Linked DNA regions of Homo sapiens: all the other regions are linked to region 3. Evidence: promoter capture Hi-C in human tissues and cell types (Jung and others, 2019). All regions are on one chromosome and are shown on one strand. Each heading gives the region's core, a stretch centred on a gene start or on the middle of the fragment in contact. The rest is flanking DNA. Distances are from core to core; before and after follow the strand shown.

Evidence for each region. Contacts are between HindIII fragments. The study calls those that stand out against the background at their distance.
Region 1: a contact is called between a fragment that was not itself captured here and the fragment with the promoter of RPL18A in region 3, in 4 of the 25 tissues and cell types used here (dorsolateral prefrontal cortex, liver, lymphoblastoid cells and 1 more).
Region 2: a contact is called between a fragment that was not itself captured here and the fragment with the promoter of RPL18A in region 3, in 2 of the 25 tissues and cell types used here (lymphoblastoid cells and spleen).

Annotation. Positions count from the first base shown.
Region 1 is chr19:17,953,530-17,956,566 of GRCh38, reverse strand. It overlaps a transcript of KCNN1 not described here. Among named protein-coding and RNA genes, the nearest start is that of KCNN1, 12 kb to the left of the region's middle. The HindIII fragment of the contact is 4,437 bases long and covers 1-3,037 here.
Region 2 is chr19:17,730,955-17,734,032 of GRCh38, reverse strand. MAP1S (microtubule associated protein 1S) reads right to left here. Exons shown (of 7, transcript NM_018174.6): 6 at 605-840. FCHO1-AS1 (FCHO1 antisense RNA 1) reads left to right here. Exons shown (of 5, transcript XR_007067152.1): 5 at 611-698. Among named protein-coding and RNA genes, the nearest start is that of MAP1S, 13 kb to the right of the region's middle. The HindIII fragment of the contact is 4,823 bases long and covers 1-3,078 here.
Region 3 is chr19:17,858,562-17,861,764 of GRCh38, reverse strand. It overlaps RPL18A (ribosomal protein L18a), which reads right to left and starts at 1,855. Exons shown (of 5, transcript NM_000980.4): 1 at 1,791-1,855; 2 at 293-472. The coding sequence starts at 1,808. RefSeq lists enhancers at 1-100, 1,860-2,239, 1,572-2,307. The HindIII fragment of the contact is 5,224 bases long and covers 1,758-3,203 here.

The sequences.
Region 1 (3,037 bases), core at 260-2,759, 95 kb before region 3:
CTTGCTACATTGCCCAGGCTGGTCTCAAGCTCCTGAGCTCAAGTGATCCTCCTGTCTTGGCCTCCCAAAGTTCTGGGATCACAGGCATCAGCCACTGTATCCAGCACAAAACACTTAAGCTTAATTGATGCCCCATGAAATTCCACAAGGGCTGACCTGGGCTGGCCTTTGTCCTTATTGCATCCCAGCATCCAGCCTAGGGCCTGGCAGACAGTAGCTAGCTTGCTCAGTGTTTGTTGATTGACTAAATGACCACCACCTCTGTTTTCTCCACACCCCCATGGGCAGCTTAGTGCTGACCCTGGATGTCAGTCAGTGTTCACCAAGGAGGCCTGGCTCAGTGGCTCACGCCTGCAATCCCAGCACTTTGGGAGGCCAAGACAGGTGGATCACCTGAGGTCAGGAGTTCGAGACCAGCCCGGCCAACATGGGGAAACCCCATCTCTACTGAAAACACAAAAATTAGCTGTGCGTGGTGACGCATGCCTGTAATCCCAGCTACTTGGGAGGCTGAAGCAGGAGAATCGCTTGAACCCGGTGGGGTGGAGGGTGGAGGTTGCAGTGAGCCAAGATCATGCCACTGCGCTCCAGCCTGGGCGACAGAGTCAGACTCTGTCTCAAAACAAACAAACAAAACAAAACAAAACAAAACTAAAAAAAAAAAGTTCACTGGAGAAAGGAGCACAGGAGCTGCCTTCCACAGAGCTGGCCTACCCTGGGGGCTGTCTCCAGCGAGACCACGAGAGCCGGGAAGTAGAGGCTGTGTGTGGGGGGCGGGGGCGGGAGTGGTGGGACAGAGCTCTTCCAACCTGGCTCAACACCCCACTTCTAGGTCATCTGGCCTCTCTGAATAGTTTCCCCAACTCCAGTGATCAAAGAAAGTGGACAGTAACTCCCCGGAGGCTCTAGAAAGCATAGTCCTTGCTATCATCATCATGATATATATGATATAATAATAATTATATTATTATTTTTTTTCTTTCTTTCTTTTTTTTTTTTTTTTTGGAGATGGAGTTTCACTCTTGTTGCCCAGGCTGGAGTGCAATGGCACAATCTCGGCTCACTGCAACTTCCGCCTCCTGGGTTCAAGTGATTCTCCTGCCTTAGCCTCCCAAGTAGCTGGGATTACAGGCATGCAGCACCATGCCTGGCTAATTTTGTATTTTTAGTAGAGATGGGGGTTTCACCCTGTTGGCCAGGCTGGTCTCGAACTCCTGACCTCAGGTGATCTGCCTGCCTTGGCCTCCCAAAGTGCTGGGATTACAAGCGTAAGCCACCACGTCTGGCCTTTTTTCTTTTTTTTTTTTTTAATTAAAGAGATGGGGGTCTCGCTCTGTCGCCTAGGCTGGAGTGCAGTGGCCATTCACAAGCGTGATCATAGCTCACTGCAGCCTCGAACTCCTGGACTCGATACTCCCACCTTAGCCTTCCGAGTAGCTAGGACCACAGGTGCACGCCACTGTACCCAGCTTGTTATTATTTCAAAAGCTGGCACTTTTTCCTCAGGTCACCTTTTTTTTTTTTTTTTTGAAACAGAGCTTTGCTCTGTCGCCCAGGCTGGAGTGCAGTGGCGCGATCTTGGCTCACTGCAACCTCTGCCTCCCGGATTCAAGTGGTCCTCCTGCCTCAGCCTCCCAAGTAGCTAGGATTGCAGGTGCCCACCACCATCCCCGGGCAATTTTTGTATTTTTAGTAGACACGGGGTTTCGCCATGTCGGCCAAACTGGCCTCAAACTCCTGACCTCAAGTGATCCACCTGCCTCAGCCTCCCAAAGTGCTGGGATTACAGGCGTGAGCCACCTAGCCTGCCCAGTTACCAATTTTTCTATCCAACCCCTGAGCCACCCCCACCCCCAAAGGCGACCCAAGTCTGGGATTCACTCACCCTAGGGTGCAGGGGTCTCCTCGCCGAGCCACTGCAAAGGGGCTGTCCCCTTCAGTCCTGCTGGTGACCACTTGACTGGGAGAGAGGGTGGCTGCTGCTGCCTTTCCTGTCCCTTTGAGATCTGTAATGATCAGACAGGGGGTGCGGGGTGGAGGCGGGGACCCAAAAGAGTAGGGTGCAGACAGCTCCCGGACTACAGTGGTCTTTCTTATTTTTTATTTTTTTGAGACAGAGTCTTGCTCTGTCACCCAGGCTGGAGTGTAGTGATGTGATCTCAGCTCACTGCAACTGCCGCCTCCAGGGTTCAAACAATTCTCCTGCCTCAGCCTCCCAAGCATCTGGGATTACAGGTGCCTGCCACCATGCCCGGCTACTTTTTGTATTTTTAGTAGAGATGGGGTTTTGCTGTGTTGGCCAGGCTGGACTTGAACTCCTGGCCAGAGGTGATTCACCTGCTTCAGCCTATTACGTACAATGGTCTTTACAGCAGATCTGCGCTCTGGCTTGGTGTTGCTGAGCTGGGTCATCTCCTAAGCTTTCAGGAAGCTTAAGAACAGTGGCTTTATCACTCCAATGGGGCCCTGGGCTAGCCCCACCTCTTCCATGTCCCCTCCCTAAGGCCACTCCTCCTTTCACTGGGCTCCAGAAGCTAGACACTGAATGCTTTATCTGTCTTTCCCAATGCTGTTCCTGCTCACCCCCTCACATTGCCCCTAGTTCCTTCGCCATGGGGAGATCTAGGTGGGTGACATTCAGGGAGGTGACATTTTGTCACCCAGGCTGGAGTGCAGTCGCATGAACATGGCTCACTGCAGCCTTGACTTCCCGGGCTCAAGCGATCCTCCCACCTTCGGCCCCCAAGTAGCTTGGACTACAAGTGTGCACCACTACACCTGGCTAATTTTTTTAATTTTTTGTAGAGACAGGGTTTCAGTACGTTGCCCAGGCTGGTCTCGAACTCCTGAGCTTGCCTCGCCCTTCCAAAGTGTTGGGATTACAGTTGTGAACCACCTCGCTTGGCAGAGCAGCTGAACTCTTGCTCCCCAGCTCTGAAGCTGCCCTGGGAGCCTGTAGCTCCCTTGGCGTGCTCCCTCCATCTATTTAGTGCTGTCTGCAGAGGGCTTATAGAAGCACATGGTACCCAAGTCCGAT
Region 2 (3,078 bases), core at 180-2,679, 130 kb after region 3:
CTCCTCTGCAAGGCCTTCCTTGGCCTGAGACCCCTCTCTACTCACTTGGATCTCCCCCTGCTCCTTGAACACACCAACCTCTTTCCTACCTCTGGGCCTTTTCCTGGGTCGTGCACCCTACAGGGACACTCCTTTGAAGCCAGCCTAGCAGCTATGAGAGGGCAGGGGCCGCGGTGTGAGGCGGTCCTCCCTCTGCCCACATGCACCTCGCCCTGCAGGGCTTGGTTTCAGTCTCTCAGCTTCATGCAGCCATGGGGGAGGGTTCTCAGCCGCACAGATACCACCCAGCCCACCTATTCCATCCCGACTAATTCTCACAGCGGAACAATGGCTAAGTGACAAGGTGTCTGGGGAAGGGATAGAACCATGAGGCTTCACGAGGCCCTGCGTCCTCCCCCAGGCTTCCAGCACAGCCAATGACAACAGTGACACGACAGAATCAGAGTCCGAAGAGACCCCTAAGGGCTGAGCCATGTGAGACTCCCACATTCGCCCCCATTCCCGTGTGGCCTGGGGAACACAGCTTAGTCTCTGAGGGTCGAGGGTGGTTTTACCCATCTGTGCTAACTACACTTACCACCAGAGGCCCTGGGGTGACACGCACCTGCAGGTCACGGTCCCAATGCTGCTTGCTGGCCAGTAGCGCGTCCAGGACGGCCCGCATGCCTTCCTCCTTGCGCTGGTCCTGGCCACTGATGACGTAGCAGAGCGCGCGCACGCGCTGGAAGAACTCCTCATCCACCAGGTGGGCGCTGCTCCCGCTGGGCAGGTAGGCCAGGTCCAGGTAGACCGGGGACTTGGGTGGGGTGGCTGACACCCCGGGCCGGCTGCTGGCTGACCCTGCGGGCGGGGGGATGGGGAGGCAGGGATGAGCTCCTGGGGCTGGGGAGGGGCCGAGGCTCCAAGTTCGACCTGCACCACTCAGAGCAGCTCCCTCCTCAGCAGGAGGCCTGAACTCAGAGTTTTCTGGGGAGGCCTGGTGCGCTCATGACTCCAGTGAATCTTATTTTAAGAAATGGGGTCTCGCTATGCTGCCCAGGCTCGTCACAAACTCCTGGGCTCAAGTGATCCTCCTGCCTCAGCCTTCCAAGTAGATGGGACTACAGGTGCATGTCACCACGCCTTGACTCCAGTGACTCTTCACTCACTCTACAAACACCACCGGCCACCCCTTTGTGCCTAGAGCCTGACTCATCCCCAGCCAGTCCCTGGACATAGACATCCCCAGGGCTGGGGGGCGAGTGGGTGGCAATCAGGGAATGCTTCCTGGAAGAGGGTTTAAGAGTTTGAGCCCTGAAAGCAGCCAGTGCCTGGACCATCTGCTGCTTCTGCAGCATTTGTCTGGTTCACTTGCTCAAGGGGCATTTAACAGAACCTCATGGGCACCAGGCCCTGAAACAGGGCTGTGACCAAGACAGACAGAATCCCTGCCCCAAGGGTGATGGGGAGCCAGGGTGGGTGGACAGAGCCTTGAGAGGCGGGCCCAAGATCACTGCGGGATGCTGGATGCGGATGAGACAGCAGCTCTGGGGGCCTTGTCCAAACCCTGACCTTAGGGCCAAAGGGGACAAGGCCACCAGCCCTGGGCAAGTGAATGATCAATGAAATGAAAGGATACGGCTGGGTCTCGGGCACAAGAAGCCTGCCAGACCCTGCATCTTACAATCACAGCTGCTGCCCAGCTCAGGGGGTAAGAGTACTACCCCGTCTGTATACCAACAAATGCATACCCTCAGCCGAAATGGACACATTCCTAGAAACACAAAAACTACCAAGACACAATCACAAAAATAGAAAATCAGCACATACCTGTAGCTAGCAAGGAGAATGAATCAGTAACTTACGACCTCCCAACAAAGAAAAGCCCTGGGGAAGCCACTAAACATTTAGAGAACTAACATCAGCCTTTCTCAAACTTTTCCGAGGAACTGAAGAGGAAGGAACACTTCCTAACTCATTTTATAAGACCAGAATTGTCTTAATACCAAAGCCAGGCACAGATATTTAATTCTACAAGAAAATGCCAGTTCAACAGACTTTATGAACAATAATGTAAAAAATCAGGCCTGGGGGTGCAGTGGCTCACGCCTGTAATCCCAGCACTTTGGGAGGCTGAGGCAGGCAGATCACTTGAGGTCAGGAGTTCAAGACCAGCCTAGCCAACATGGCGAAACCCTGTCTCTTACTAAAAATACAAAAATTAGCTGGGCGTGGTGGCAGGTGCCTGTAATCCCAGCTACTCGGGAGGCAGAGGCAGGAGAACTGCTTGAACCCAGGAAGTGGAGGTTGCAGTGAGCTGAGATTGTGCCACTGCACTCCAGCCTGGGCGACAGAGTGAGACTCCATCTCAAAAAATAATAATAAACGAATTCAGCAAAGAAGCAAGGTACAAAGTCCACAGGCAAAACACAGTTGAATTTCTATACATGAACAATGAACAATGTGAAAAGGAGATTAAACAATCATGAAATAGAAGAATCAAGATAGAGGACTCACACTTCCAGATTTCAAAACTTACTACAAAGCTACAGTAATCAAAACAGCGTGGCACTGGCATAAAGACAGACATATAGACCAATGGAATACAATAGAGGCCCGGAAATAAATCATCACATGTATGCTGAAATGATCTTCAACAAGCGTTCCAAACATTCAATGGGGAAAGGATAGTCTTTTCAACAAATGGTGCTGGGAAAGCTGGGCTTCCACATGCAAGAGAATGACACTGGATCTTTTCACCACATACAAAAATTACCTCCAAATGGACCTAAATGTGAAATGGAAAACTTAAAACTCCTGGAAGAAAACATGGGGTAGAAGCTTCTCACTGTTGGATTTGACCAGGCATGGTGACTCACATCTATAATCTTAGTACTCTGGGAGGCCGAGGCGGGCAGATCACTTGAGGTCAGGAGTTTGAAACCAGCCTGGCCAACGTGGTGAAACCCCGTGTCTACTAAAAACACAAAAAAAATTAGCCAGGTGTGGTGGTGGGTGCCTGTAATCGCAGCTACTCAGGAAGGCTGAGGCAGGAGAATCGCTTGAACCCGGGAGGCGGAGGTTGCAGTGAGCCAAGAT
Region 3 (3,203 bases), core at 606-3,105:
CCTCACTTAACAGACAGGGCCCAGGGAAGACAGCACCAACCAAGGTGTCCCACCATGCCACCCACCCGCTCCCTGGGTCCCTGGCTTTCTAATCAGGGAAATGGCACATAAGCTCTGCTCCAGTCCCGTGACCCAGGCAGAAACACAACCCGGGGCTCTGATGTCTGATGTGATGGGATTACAGGCGTTGAGCTACCGCACCCGTTCGATGTCTGATTAATTCTTGAGATGCACGATGTCCCAAGAGGCGCAAATCCACTCCAGACCCCACGTAGCCCCGGCCTCTCCATACCTGCCCACAGTAGACAATCTCCCCTGAAGACTTCTTCATCTTCTTTAACTGAGATACAAAGTACCAGAAGCGGGACTTGGCGACGACATGATTAGGCGCAAAGATTCGCATGCGGTAGAGGGGCGGCGTGTGGCATTTGGGGGTGGGCAGGCAGCGACCCACTACCTTGTACTCTCGTAGCTGAAAGGAAACAGGAGTGAGGGTAAGGCCAGCACCCAGAGGCAACTGTGGAGATCCACCTCACTCCCTTTCCTACATCTAGTGACCACAGATTCGGGAAGCAGGAGGCAGGGCCACCCTAGGGCCTCCATGTGGATTCTTGGTGACTGTAGGTCACACTCCCGACCACAACTTTATACACAAAATGAACTGAGGAGAGGGAGGTCTCCAGGGAGGATTAATTGAGTTGCCTGCCTCTCCTTTGCCTGGGCTAAGGGTTTCAGACCAGGAAAGCTGTGGCTTAGACCCACAGCCTCCTTTCTTCATGCTGCAGTCCTGAATTGCTTTGCAGTCGCCGTCAAACAGCCACTCTGCACCTCAAAACATCCAGCCAACATCTTCTTTCACCCTGAGGCCCAGTGACCAGCATGGGATCTCACAGCCCATTCCAGGCAGAACTAGGACAAGACCTCAGGTCTCTCCCCAGCCCTGGGATCCCTGCACTGTTGCCACGCGAGCTGCGGCTGCCTCCGTTTTCCCAACTGCAATCCAAACGTTTGGCCCAGGGAAGACTCCCGGTTTACAGATGCAGAGGTGAGAATCTTTGGTCAAGTCCAGGCTCTGTGATATGGCACAAAGAAACCACCTCTGAAACTGACTCGCCAGCTTTTCACTAGTTATCAATGAAAAATAGTCACAAATTATCGCAGTTCCTACTTTTACTGTGAACCTGACCCACCGGCCTCGGCACACGTTCAGGAAGGGAACAATGGGGCCCGCCCCTTTGACAGCAAGGAAACCGAAGCTGGAGATCTGGACATAATACACCCACTCCATGGGAGTCCAGGTTCTCCTATCTCTGCGCCATAGAGCCGTTTGATTCTATCCAGTATGTACCACAGCGTTAAGCCTCACGCTCCCCGTTTCGGCTCACTGTTAGCAATTTTCATCTGCTTCTCACAGCCATTCCGGCAGAAAGAAAACACACTATTGCTCTACCGCCACGTCCACGTTGCAGAAAGGAAAACAGAAACTTGGCGGCTCGACGAGGTGCCGGGGCTAGGGCCTCTATGCTGCGCGACTTATTCCTTCCCCCGGGAAGAAGACCCGGAGTCCTTGGGCCCCCGCGATCCCTGAGCTGGCCCAGGTCACGCATCGCTCTCTCCACGCGGCTCCCACGATGGCCGCCATGTTGGGTGCAACAAGAGAAGGCGGCGCGCGGCCAAGGGGGGCCCAAACAGAAGCGCGCGGCACCAACCCGGCCCACGCCACTTATGCAGGCCCCTGATGGGGCCCGTGCCCCATCCCTTGGCCCCCTGCCGCGCCGCGCCCGCCTTACCGTGCCCGAGGCCTTCATGGCGTGCTCTCCGCGTTCGCCGCCACCCGCAAAAGGAAGTGTCCTCTGTCGCGCAGCCGTTCACCAGGCCTTCACTACCGGAAGACCCGCCCTCTCAATGCCGCACGTCCATTGGCTTCTCTGCCCCGCACTCAAAGCGACCCGCGTCTTCATTGGCTATGGATCCACCTGCTACTCAAAGTTCCGCCTCTCTTCAGCGAGACTTCGTTTCCCAGAAGGCAACGAGGCAAGCTCCACCTGTTCCACCACGACCGCAACGGAGCGTCTGCGCGCGCGGCACGTCGGGAGTTGTAGGCACTCCGCCAGTCCCGGCTGCAACTAGGGGCGGCGGCGCGCGCCGCCTGCAGGATGCCTAAGCATTGAACCTAAGCTACCTCGGGTGGCTGCGGTGTTTACCGTGAGATCCCGATGCTTCACACTCGGGGCCTCATCCTCCGGGGAGGTGTGTTACGGAGGTCTCCACCAGATACCTGAGGGTATCTGTAAAATGGGAATACAAATAATATATTTTTCTCCTAGCGATGTTGCAGCACGAATATTGAATAAGCTCTGGAATGCTGTTTTTGTTAATTTGGGGTCCGATTTGTGTTTCGTAGTAGCTGGGATTCAAACTCTGTCTGTCTGCCTCCAGTTCATAAGAACCTGAGGGAGCAGGGGTTGGGGGAGAGCGCGCGGAGAGCCGGAGAATGGATCAAGATCCAGCCGCCCACTTTGAGGGGCTTGGACTTAGCAGTTTGCTTGGGCAGAAAGAAGCCCTCCTGGGGATGAGGACGGGGACCAGATATGAAAAAAGAAACACCCGCAAACAACTCCCTGATGACAAGGCTATGAAGTAAAATTAAGAGGAAAGAGGCAGGAGGCTGAGGCATGAGAATCGTTTGAACCCAGGAGCCAGAGGTTGCAGTGACCCGAGATTGCGCCACTGTACTCCAGCCTGGGCGACAGAGTGAGACTCTGTCTCAAAAAAAAAAAAAAAAAAAAAAGACCAGGCGCGGTGGCTCACGCCTGTCATCCCAGCACTTTGGGAGGCCGAGGCGGGTGGATCACTTGAGGTCAGGAGTTCGAGACCAGCCTGGCCAACATGGCGAAACCCCGTCTCTACTAAAAATACAAAAATTAGCCGGGCGTGGTGGCGGGCGCCTGTAATCCCAGCTACTCGGGAGGCTAAGGCAGAAGAATCGCTTGAACCTGGGAGATGGAGGTTGTAGTAAGCCGAGATCTGGCCATTGCACTCCAGCCTGGGAGACAGGGCGAGACTCCGACTCAGAAAAAAAAGAAAGAAAGAAAGAAAGAAAATAAAGGACAGCAAGCATGCAATTTTTTATTTTCATTTTCTTATTTTGCATTTCTGGTTCTCTTAATCTGGTTTTGTGGATTCAAGTCACTACTGGGTGT